Linked DNA regions of Homo sapiens: regions 2 and 3 are each linked to region 1. The links are contacts of gene promoters, found by promoter capture Hi-C in human tissues and cell types (Jung and others, 2019). All regions are on one chromosome and are shown on one strand. The core of a region is centred on a gene start or on the middle of the fragment in contact, and the rest is flanking DNA. Distances in the headings are between cores, read along the strand shown. Region 1 holds the start of CCNF (cyclin F). Region 2 holds the start of NTHL1 (nth like DNA glycosylase 1). Region 3 holds the start of PRSS27 (serine protease 27).

Region 1 (3,136 bases), core at 421-2,920:
AGACAGAAGCCTTGATAAGATGAAAAATTATTCTATATACACACCCTTGAAGGGAAAAAAAAAGGATAAAAGTTACATCTGAAGATGATCTAATGGTTACTATTCCCTGTGCCACAAAAGATGGAACTATGCTTCTTGTCCCAAACAAAGATTATGTAAAGGAGTGGCATTGCACAAATTACAGAAGAGATCATTCATTTTCAAATATTCAACAAATATTTATGGCAAATAGCGCATGTCATGTAACTTGGCTATTGGGAAACTTTCTGATCCAGAGCCCACATGACAGGCAGGAAGGGGAAAAAGCTGCCGAAGCTGAGGACGGTTTTCCTTCTATTTCACTCTCAGGAAAACTCCTGGGGCCTTTGCTGGATAGCTTTGCTTTTTGCACACGTGACCAAGGTGCATAATGTTCAATAAAGATCTGTGGGCTTGAAGAGTCTGGTTTTCAAGTCCAAATTAGAAGGGTCGGCCCTGGAGAGAAGCCACAGACTTGGAGGCCGGGGCAGTGTGCGTCCAAGTCTCAGCTCTGCAGAGTCTCAGTGTGCCCTCTATTGTAGAATGCGGAGTTGACAGCTACGCAGTAAGGTTGTTGCTCAGGTCCCAACACAAACCTAGACCTGTAGGTTTGTGTACAGATGCAATCATTAAAGGTGAGACGGGCATTCCACCCACCAGGCAGGCAGCCCGGACATGCTTCTCAGATGTGCTCTCTCCTCTTCCCACAGCCGGATTTTCCAACTCCTACTCCAGCAACCCCTTCCTCACTCTAAGCAGATGACCTTAGCCCTTATTTCACAGGGAAACAGAAGCCCTCAGACAGGAACCTCAGGATCCTGCCTCCCCATCTACAAATCTACCTTTCTATCCATCCTTCCTTCCAGTCCTGAAAGGAAGCGCCACTCCCCTCTGTGGGCCCAAATCCCTCCCCGCCTTGCTAGGACTTCCTAGCGATTGCTCCCGGCTCCCCTCTCTTGACCGGGGTCTTCCTGTTAGCAATTAAATCAGCTGCAAAAGCCAAACGTATTCCAGGGCGACGAATTCTCAAAGATTCTATAGACCTCTCCATAAAATATTCCTCATTCTCCGGCTCCAGGACAGATACTATGATAATAGCTGAAACCACAGTTCGTGTTTCCTGTGCCTCAACGCGCGCGGGGCCGAACGCTGCTTTCCACAGAGCTAGGTCCACGGCCCCGCTGGACTGAGGCTCGGTCAGGGCCCGGCCGGGCTGCGGGATCGCTTCGCCCCCACGCGCTCCGCAGCCCTTTCCCCGACCAGGAGGCGCTGGTGTTTGGCTCCCCGAGACCCGATCGCCGCCCCGGGACCCGATCGCCGGATCGCTGCCCCGGGACCCGATCGTTGCCCCAGGAAAGGGCCGGAAAACGTCGCCGCGGGGGAAGGCTCCGAGGGGCTCGGGCGCCCGCCGGGCATTTAAACCGCGCGCCCGGCCGCCGGGGCTCCCTGCGCGGGACGCGACATCCGCCCCGGGTTAAAGAGCTCGAGCCAGCCCTCTTCAGGCCGCCAGGGCCTCCCCTCCCGCGGGACCCACCGTCCGCCCCGCAGGGCAGGCAGAAGGGGTGTGGGGCAGAAACCAGCGGACATCGCCCCGCACTCACCGCCGCCGCTCCCCATCGCCGCGCTCGCGTCGCTGCCGCCGGAGCCCGCCTGAGAGCGCGCCCGCGCCCCGGCCGGAGCGCGCGTAGCCCTCGCGCAGGCGCAGACCCCGCCCCGCCGCCCACCCCAGTTTTCAAACGCACCCGGCCCTCCCATTGGCCTGCCCGGGGGGGCCGCCGCCGGCCCCGCCCATGTCCCGCCCTGTGCTCGCCTCATTTACCGCCCTCCACGCCCTCCCCGCCTGCTCCGGGACCCGCCATTGGCCGCGCCAGGACGCGAATTCGAACATTGGCCGCTGATTGGTGGAACCCGCGTGGCCGCCCCGCCTCCCCAACGGGGCTGGGGTCCCGTAGGAGCGCTTCCCGGCCGGCGGGCAGGGGTTTGTGGGCGTCCCCTCCCGGCCGCATGGGTTCGGGCTTCGCCGCTGACCCCGGCGACCGGCATCTGCGGTGCCAGATGGGCTGCGAAGGCGCACGCCTGCGGCCAGGGGAAAGAGGACTCCTTGGCGTCCCTCGCAGTCGCGGCCGTGATCCAGCCTGGGACAGCCTCGACGTGGCGCTTCTAAGACGAGGCCGTGCCCTGCCCGGGTCCCGGGGTCGCTCCTGGGCCCGCGACCCTCACCCCCAGCTTGCACGGCCTTCCCTTCCGCCGCCTGCTTCAGGTGGAGACCCTTGGGTTTGTGGCTGAGCCGCTGCTGGGCGGGGATGCTGGCCGGGATCGTGGTAGAGAAAGAGGAGGTCGGAGCTGACGCTGGGAAGTCTCCCCCGCGGAACGCTGACCCCTTCTTCCCGCGAAACGTGGCGCACCCTGGACGCCTCAGTGCTCCAGCCCCGGGGCAAGCCCTCCCCATCACTTTGGCCAGATGCTGCCCCCTGTCTGGCCTCCTCGGCTGCTACCTGGAGCTGCTCGCCGCGGGAAGTGTCGTATCTGCTCACTCTTGTCTTGGGCAGTGCCCATCTGAGCTGTCCTTCAGGAGTCAGCCACACCGCACCCCTTTTACGGCACAGGCTGTCAAGGGGAAGACTCGCAGCCTCCTGACTGTCTGGTGGAGGACAGAGGGGGCTTTTCCTGGGGAAGGCAGGGGCCTGGGCCAAGGCTGCCCACCCCTCCCTCACGCTTCCCTCAGTCTGCACCCTTCCATCCTTCCGGGTCCCCATAGAACTCCTTCAAGTACTGGGCCTGCCCTGGGCACACAGACAGGAGCCCTGGCGTGCAGGCTTCAGCCGGCCTGGGGCAAGAGACAGAGTAAACAGGTGATCACAGCACAGGGTACAGAAGAGTCCGTGGCCCCAGAGAGGGTCTGGAAGTTGGGAATATTCCCTGTCCCGGAATCAGGAAGCGGGTGAAGGAGGGTGAAGAGAGGACAGGCTGAGCGAGTTTGGGGCCTGCTCCCCAGATGTCCCATGTTCTCAGCCCCCAGATTTATTATCCCCTTATCTCACTTTTGTCCTCCTGGGTTACTGTTTCCTACTTTGTCACTGTTACCTGTCTCCCCCTAGGGCAGAGGTGCACTTTCAGG
Region 2 (3,136 bases), core at 175-2,674, 380 kb after region 1:
AAAAATTAAATGGGTGTGGTGGCACGTGTCTGTAGTCCCAGCTACTCAGGAGGCTGAGGCAGGAGAACCACTTGAAACTGGGAGGCAGAGGTAGCAGCGAGCAGAGATTGTGCCACTGCACTCCAGCCTAGGCAACAGAGCAAGACTCAGTCTCAAAAAAAAAATAAAATAAAGAACCTACTTCTCCCAGGAACTCACATCTTATCATGTAACACCTGGACATATCCTTACCTGTGAAGATGATGATACTCAGGCCTCATCTATAAGATGGGCTTTCTTTCATCAACATCTGAATAGTAACTCAAGTGTGCCTGAACCAGGTCACCAAGATCCTGACTTTCGAAGTCTCCTGAGGAAGGACATGTCGGCCTCCAAGTACTGGAGACAGCATTCCTGTGTAGACAGTTGCCAGCAACCCGTCTCCCACAGAACCTGGTGCAAGACCAAACCCAGCCTTCTCTGCATTTCCCTCTAGCCTAGCAAAGACACAGGTAGCTCACTCACTCTCAGTATTTCCGCGGTGATGATAAACTCCGTCTGTTTACCCTCTGCAGACCTGGGATTTGGCCTCGGTGTTCCCAGTCCCAACAGAATCTTAAACTTCTCCTTCAAGCCTGAATCTTTGCTTGTTGGTTTGGCCATGGTGGACCAGGACGCACCAGAAAACCCCTCTGTGCAAACGAAACAGGAATGGGGACATCTGAGCAACACCTCTGCCCACCTTCCCCACTGCGGACCTCCAGCCGTCAGGACCCTGGGTCTCTGGTGGGCATAACCTTTCCTCCCACACTCCCTGGGAGAACTCAACTACAGCCCAGCTGACCAGCTCGCAAACAGGCACCTAGGAAAGCCCGGGAGACACCAGGCCTGGTCTAGAGAGCTCTCTACTCAGACGCTGCCGCCCGCCCCGCCCGACTCAGTGCACGGGTTAGGACTGCCGCCGCGAAGTCCTGGGAGCCCCGACGTTTGCCGTCTCTCCTCTACCCATGTGAAGCAGGAGCTGTCACGGAGCCGCCTGCAGCAGAGACCCGTTCGCACCCGCCATGACTTAAAACTAAGGGATGCTCGGAGCTCCGGAGTCGGGTTGCAGTGGGCGCGGGTGAGGGCCCGGGACCCGGACACTGCGGGGTCCGCCTCTCTAGGCCGCTGCCCCGTGGGGACCGCCACTTGCCCCGTGGGGACCGCCACTTACCCCGCGCCGCGCCACCGCGCTCCGGGCCGCCCCGACGCGGAGAAAGGCGCACCCCCCTGGCCCCGGGACGCCGCCGGAAGCGCGACCCGCACTTCCGGTAGCGGCATTGCGCGGAGGGCCGCCTTGGGAGCTTGCTGGGAGTTGTAGTTCTGTGCCGCCCTCTGGCGGAAAGGCCGGCGATCCTTGCATCACGTGACGGGGCCGCATGGGCCGCCGGGATGTGTAGTCCGCAGGAGTCCGGCATGACCGCCTTGAGCGCGAGGATGCTGACCCGGAGCCGGAGCCTGGGACCCGGGGCTGGGCCGCGGGGGTGTAGGGAGGAGCCCGGGCCTCTCCGGAGAAGAGAGGCTGCAGCAGGTAGCGCCGCGCCGTGGCTGGAGCGTGGGAGGAGGCGGGATAGGGGCTGCAGGCTGGAGTCCCGGGCCGCCTCCTGCGGCTCCCAGCTGCGCGGGCAGGGGCTGCAAACCCGGCAGCCGCGAACGGTTCCCACGTGCGGCCCTGCGTTCCCACCTTGCGCCTTTTTCCCAAAGATTGCGGTCCGCAGGGGCTGGGTTTCGGGCGCTCCGCTCCGCTGCCCCCTTTCGCCCCAAGCAAGAAAACGCTTCCTTTCCCACCACTCTGTCCGGGACTCTCCACTCCAGGCTCTGTGGGTCCCATCCCCGCCCTCCTGCAGTGAACTTGCTGTCCTCGGAGAGGCTGGGTGCCAAGGACACACGCAGCCAGAAGCCTGCTCCCCCAGCTCGGGGGAGGGTGCCTCTGAGGGAAAACAGGAAAGGGCATGGCACTTATTATATTTATCCTGCAGCCGTTGAGGACCTGCTGGGGGCCAAGCACTGCAGTGAGCAGTGAGGGACACGGACAGGGCCTCTGCGCTAGTCCCGCTGGGACTTCTGCAGAATTGGCCAGAGCTGGATTCCCATAGGCACCCAGGGACCCCAGGGGTAGTCCAGACTATGTCAGGAGGAACTGGTGCAGCTGGGAGCAGGCAGGTGGTGATGCCAGCCAGGGTGGCAGGAGCTTTGATGCCAGGATAGAGTTTGGAGTTTATTATGACAGTAAACGGAAGTCAATTAGGAGGTTTTGTTGTTTGTTTTGAGATCGGGTCTTGCTCTGTCACCCAGGCTGTAGTGGAGTGTTGTGATCTCAGCTCACTGCAACCTCCGCCCCCCAGGTTCAAGCAGTTCTCCTGCCTCAGCCTCCCAAGTAGCTGAGACTATAGGCCCCTGCCACCACACCCGGCTAACTTTTGTATTTTTAGTAGAGATGGGGTTTTGCCATATTGGCCAGGCTGGTCTTGAACTCCTGACCTCAAGTGATCCACCCACCTCGGCCTCCCAAAGTGCTGGGATTACAGGCTTGATCCACCGCGCCCGGCCGGCCAGGATTTTTTAAAAGGGAGTGACACAACCTGATGTGGGTGTTAGCAGACTGTCTCTGGTGCAGTATAGAAGATGTATTGGGGGCACCTTGGTACAGGCTGTTGCTAGAGTCCTCATGAGCTAACATGGACCTTGTCAGGGTCGCTGGCATAAGGAGGGCCCACATACCCCAGACTGCAGAGGGCAGAGCACCCCAAGTGTATTAGATGATGGACAGTTGTGGCATGAACGAGTGAGGGGTGAGCTAGCAGGCGGGATGGCACCCCTACCCTACCTTCACCTGTGGCCCCACCAGAGGGACTGCGTGGTGCTTTTTGCAGAAGCGAGGAAAAGCCACAGCCCCGTGAAGCGTCCGCGGAAAGCACAGAGACTGCGTGTGGCCTATGAGGGCTCGGACAGTGAGAAAGGTGAGGGGGCTGAGCCCCTCAAGGTGCCAGTCTGGGAGCCCCAGGACTGGCAGCAACAGCTGGTCAACATCCGTGCCATGAGGAACAAAAAGGATGCACCTGTGGACCATCTGGGGACTGAGCACTGCTATGACTCCAGTGCCCCCCCAAAGGTAGGC
Region 3 (3,136 bases), core at 176-2,675, 290 kb before region 1:
TGAATACGTTTGGAGTCCCCTCTTCCCACTCCTCGCCCTCCCTCCTTCCCTCCAGACCCCCAGGGGCTGCCCAGCCCGCCTCCCACCCCCGACCCGGGAACTCCAGGGACTGGACGGGGAGGGAAGGGTGGGAGGAGGCGGTGGAGGCGGAGGCGGAGACGCGGGAGGGCGGGGCTAGGGAGGGCGATGCGGGGAGCCGGAGCCCGGACCATGAGGCTGGGAGCGCCCCTTCTGCACCCCTGGCCGCCCGCGCCGCGCCCCGCGCCCACCAGAGGGCAGCACCACGACGCGCGCGGACAAGGCTGAGGCGGGAACGGCCGCACCCCCAGCCCCGCCCGGAGCCGCCCGGCCCCGCCCCGCCCGCGAGTACCGACCCCCGGCGCCGGCGGGGAAACAGGTCCGGCGCCCCCGACCCCACGGCCCGGCCCCACTCTGTCTCTGACGTCAGCGCCGTGCCCCAAATAACTTCCTCCCCGAGCCTCTTCCGCCGCGGCGCCGCGCCCAGAGCCAGGCGGGGACACCGAAACGGTAACCCCGGCCCGGCCTTCCCGGAGCCGCTTCCGCCCCGCCTGGTGCCAGGAAGCCCCCGCCCCTTCCAAGGGATGGCAGCCGGGGCCCGGGTCGGCCGCCTGGGCCGCGCTGGCGCGCGCCTGAGGAACTTCTGGGGCCTGCTGTCCCGGGAGGAGGGTCGCTGCGGCCAACTCCGGACCCCGCCCCATGTCCCATCGCCTCCCCTGCCCTCGGCCCCGCAAACACCCCTGGCCTTGACTTTCCCACCAGCGCGGCCCAGCCCCACTGTGTTCCATCGGCGCTCAATAAAATACTGAATGAGGCCGGGCGCGGTGGCTCACCCCTGTAATCCCAGCGCTTTGGGAGGCCGAGGAGGGCGGATCACGAGGTCAGGAGATCGAGACTAGCCTGGCCAACACGGTTAAACCCCGTCTCTACTAAAAATACAAAAAATTAGCCGGGCGTGGTGGCACCTGCCTGTAATCCCAGCTACTCAGGAGGCTGAGGCAGGAGAATGGCTTGAACCTGGGAGACGGAGCTTGCAGTGAGCCGAGATTGCGCTCCAGCCTGGGCGACAGAGCGAGACTCTGTCTCAAAAAATTAAAAAAAATAATAATAATAATAATGAATGAAGCTGGACGGACTTCGCGTGCACCGCGGTCAGCTCGGGGTCTGCTGGGGGGTCTGGGTCAGCTCAGGGTCCAGGAACCGAGGCCAACGGCACCCCGTGCTGCGCTGGGGTGAGGGGTCTGCCCTGGGGTCTCGGGGTTCAGGGCTAGGTCACGGAGGAGTCGGCTCTGGGCGCTTCCTTCCTGAGGAGAGGAGCTGGGCAGGCCGGGCCGACGGGTTGGGCCGCATAGCCGGGCCTGTGCTCATCTCCAGCATAAAACTCCACTTCATGGAGCCTGCACCTCGCTCGTGCTCCAACGCTTCTGCCACCGCCGACCACGGCCCTGCGCCCCAGCCAGGCCTGAGGACATGAGGCGGCCGGCGGCGGTGCCGCTCCTGCTGCTGCTGTGTTTTGGTGAGTCGTGAAGGTGCAGGGTCCTGGTGGTGCAGTCCCCCACCAGGCTCCGCTGCACTGCCTGGGGCTCCGGCTCAGCCCCCTACTCCCTGGGACAGGCTGGGGCTGTGGGACAGGCCATCATCCCTCCTGCCCCTGAGCAGGTGGGAAGGCTCCAGATGTGCCAAGTGGGGAGTCCAAAGTGGGGAGGCAGGGTGGGAGGTGTGCGCACAGGCCCCAGAGGACCCCACCGGCATAACTGGGCAGCACCTCCTCCCATGCCTCTCCGCGGGCACTGGTGTGCCAGCTCTGGCCAGGCTCCCTGCTTCCTGCCACCTCGGCCTCTCCCCCCATTCTCTAGGTGAGGACAGGGGCCTCCTACGTGCAGGATGTGAACTCAGGCTCCAAGTGCCTGGACCATCATACTCGGGGTGGGAGGGTGGCCGAGCCGAGGGCTGCTGCCTGTGCCCGGAAGCCCCAGCAGGCTGGCTGCAGGCTCAGTAGAGAGCTGGGGGCAGGGGGTGTAGGTGGCAGAGGGCCCTGTCTCCTGCTGACAGAGGAACCGGTGATGCGCCACCGTGCCCTCTCCCAGTCCTGGGTCAGGGACAGCAGGTGCCAGCCAGGGGGCCCCACCTGCCAGGCCCCTCCCTGCGGGCCGGGACACTCTCTGTCAGGGAAAACCTCTCACATTCCTGGGCTAGCCTAGCCAGTCTGGCAGCCACCACACTTCCCTGTCCTCAAGTCACCTCCCAGGGCTGGGTCAGGTCATCCCAGGCTGCAGCTTAGCCAGTACTCCAGGCTTCCTTGTTCTCCTGGGTGGGAGGGCACCAGTGGCCCCTCAGTGGCCCGGCCTCCCCCACCCCATGCCCCCAGTCTCCCAGCACAAGGATGGTGCCCTCTGAGCAAGCCATGTGCACAGGAGGTGGAAGGCTGTGACTGCCCCTGAGCGGGGTGAGGAACCAAGGTCATTGCCAAAACTCTTTGGCAATGAGTTTTGCAGTCGGTTCACTAACAGCTGTGACCAGAGGCTGGACTCCTGGACACGTCCTCACTCCCAGCCCGAGGGTGGCACTCCCACCAGGTCTCTGGCTGGTGGTACCCACTAAGCTTCACCATCCCCACCAGCTACCAGCGAATCACAGGCCCAGGCCCCAAACAATGCTCCTGACACCCCCGGCACCCCTGGCTGTTGCTTCCAGCCCCCACAGGGCGCCCACCCTGAAGGGCTCAGCTGTCCACATCCCCCATTTCCCATCAGCCCCCACAGCCACACTTGTGTCCATCCACACATTCCCTGAGATCAGGCCCCCCAGATGCAGCCCTTGCCTTCTCGGAGCTCCTGGGCTAAGATAAGACTTGATTCTGGCTCCAGGGTGATGTAGACAGAGCTCCCATCAGGACAGAGAGCTCAAGAGAGAGTATAGGGCTTCCAAGGTAGACAATGCAAGCAAGCAAGGAAGGCTTCCTGGAGGAGGCAGCATTCAGTTGGGCCTTGATCTCTAGATCACGATTAGGACTTGGCTGGGAGCGGTGGCTCACGCCTGTAATGCCAGCACTTTGGGAGGCCGAGGTGGGCGGATCACGGGGCCAGGAGATCGAGACTATCCTGGCAAACATGGTGAA

Evidence for each region. Contacts are between HindIII fragments. The study calls those that stand out against the background at their distance.
Region 2: a contact is called between the fragment with the promoter of NTHL1 here and the fragment with the promoter of CCNF in region 1, in 2 of the 25 tissues and cell types used here (lymphoblastoid cells and stomach).
Region 3: the fragment with the promoter of PRSS27 here is called in contact with the fragment with the promoter of CCNF in region 1 in 1 of the 25 tissues and cell types used here (pancreas).

The regions. Positions count from the first base shown.
Region 1 is chr16:2,427,981-2,431,116 of GRCh38, reverse strand. It overlaps CCNF (cyclin F), which reads right to left and starts at 1,670. Exons shown (of 17, transcript NM_001761.3): 1 at 1,620-1,670. The coding sequence starts at 1,635. RefSeq lists silencers at 1,295-1,344, 1,355-2,204 and enhancers at 2,415-2,594, 2,030-2,609. The HindIII fragment of the contact is 14,340 bases long and covers 1-3,136 here.
Region 2 is chr16:2,046,122-2,049,257 of GRCh38, reverse strand. It overlaps NTHL1 (nth like DNA glycosylase 1), which reads left to right and starts at 1,424. Exons shown (of 6, transcript NM_002528.7): 1 at 1,424-1,549; 2 at 2,892-3,130. The coding sequence starts at 1,435. TSC2 (TSC complex subunit 2) reads right to left here and starts at 1,273. Exons shown (of 42, transcript NM_000548.5): 1 at 1,193-1,273; 2 at 505-671. The coding sequence starts at 642. RefSeq lists a silencer at 1,010-1,239 and enhancers at 1,330-1,419, 1,870-1,929, 1,521-2,020. The HindIII fragment of the contact is 27,107 bases long and covers 1-3,136 here.
Region 3 is chr16:2,718,513-2,721,648 of GRCh38, reverse strand. It overlaps PRSS27 (serine protease 27), which reads left to right and starts at 1,425. Exons shown (of 6, transcript NM_031948.5): 1 at 1,425-1,534. The coding sequence starts at 1,489. RefSeq lists a silencer at 95-854 and an enhancer at 588-1,155. The HindIII fragment of the contact is 19,281 bases long and covers 1-3,136 here.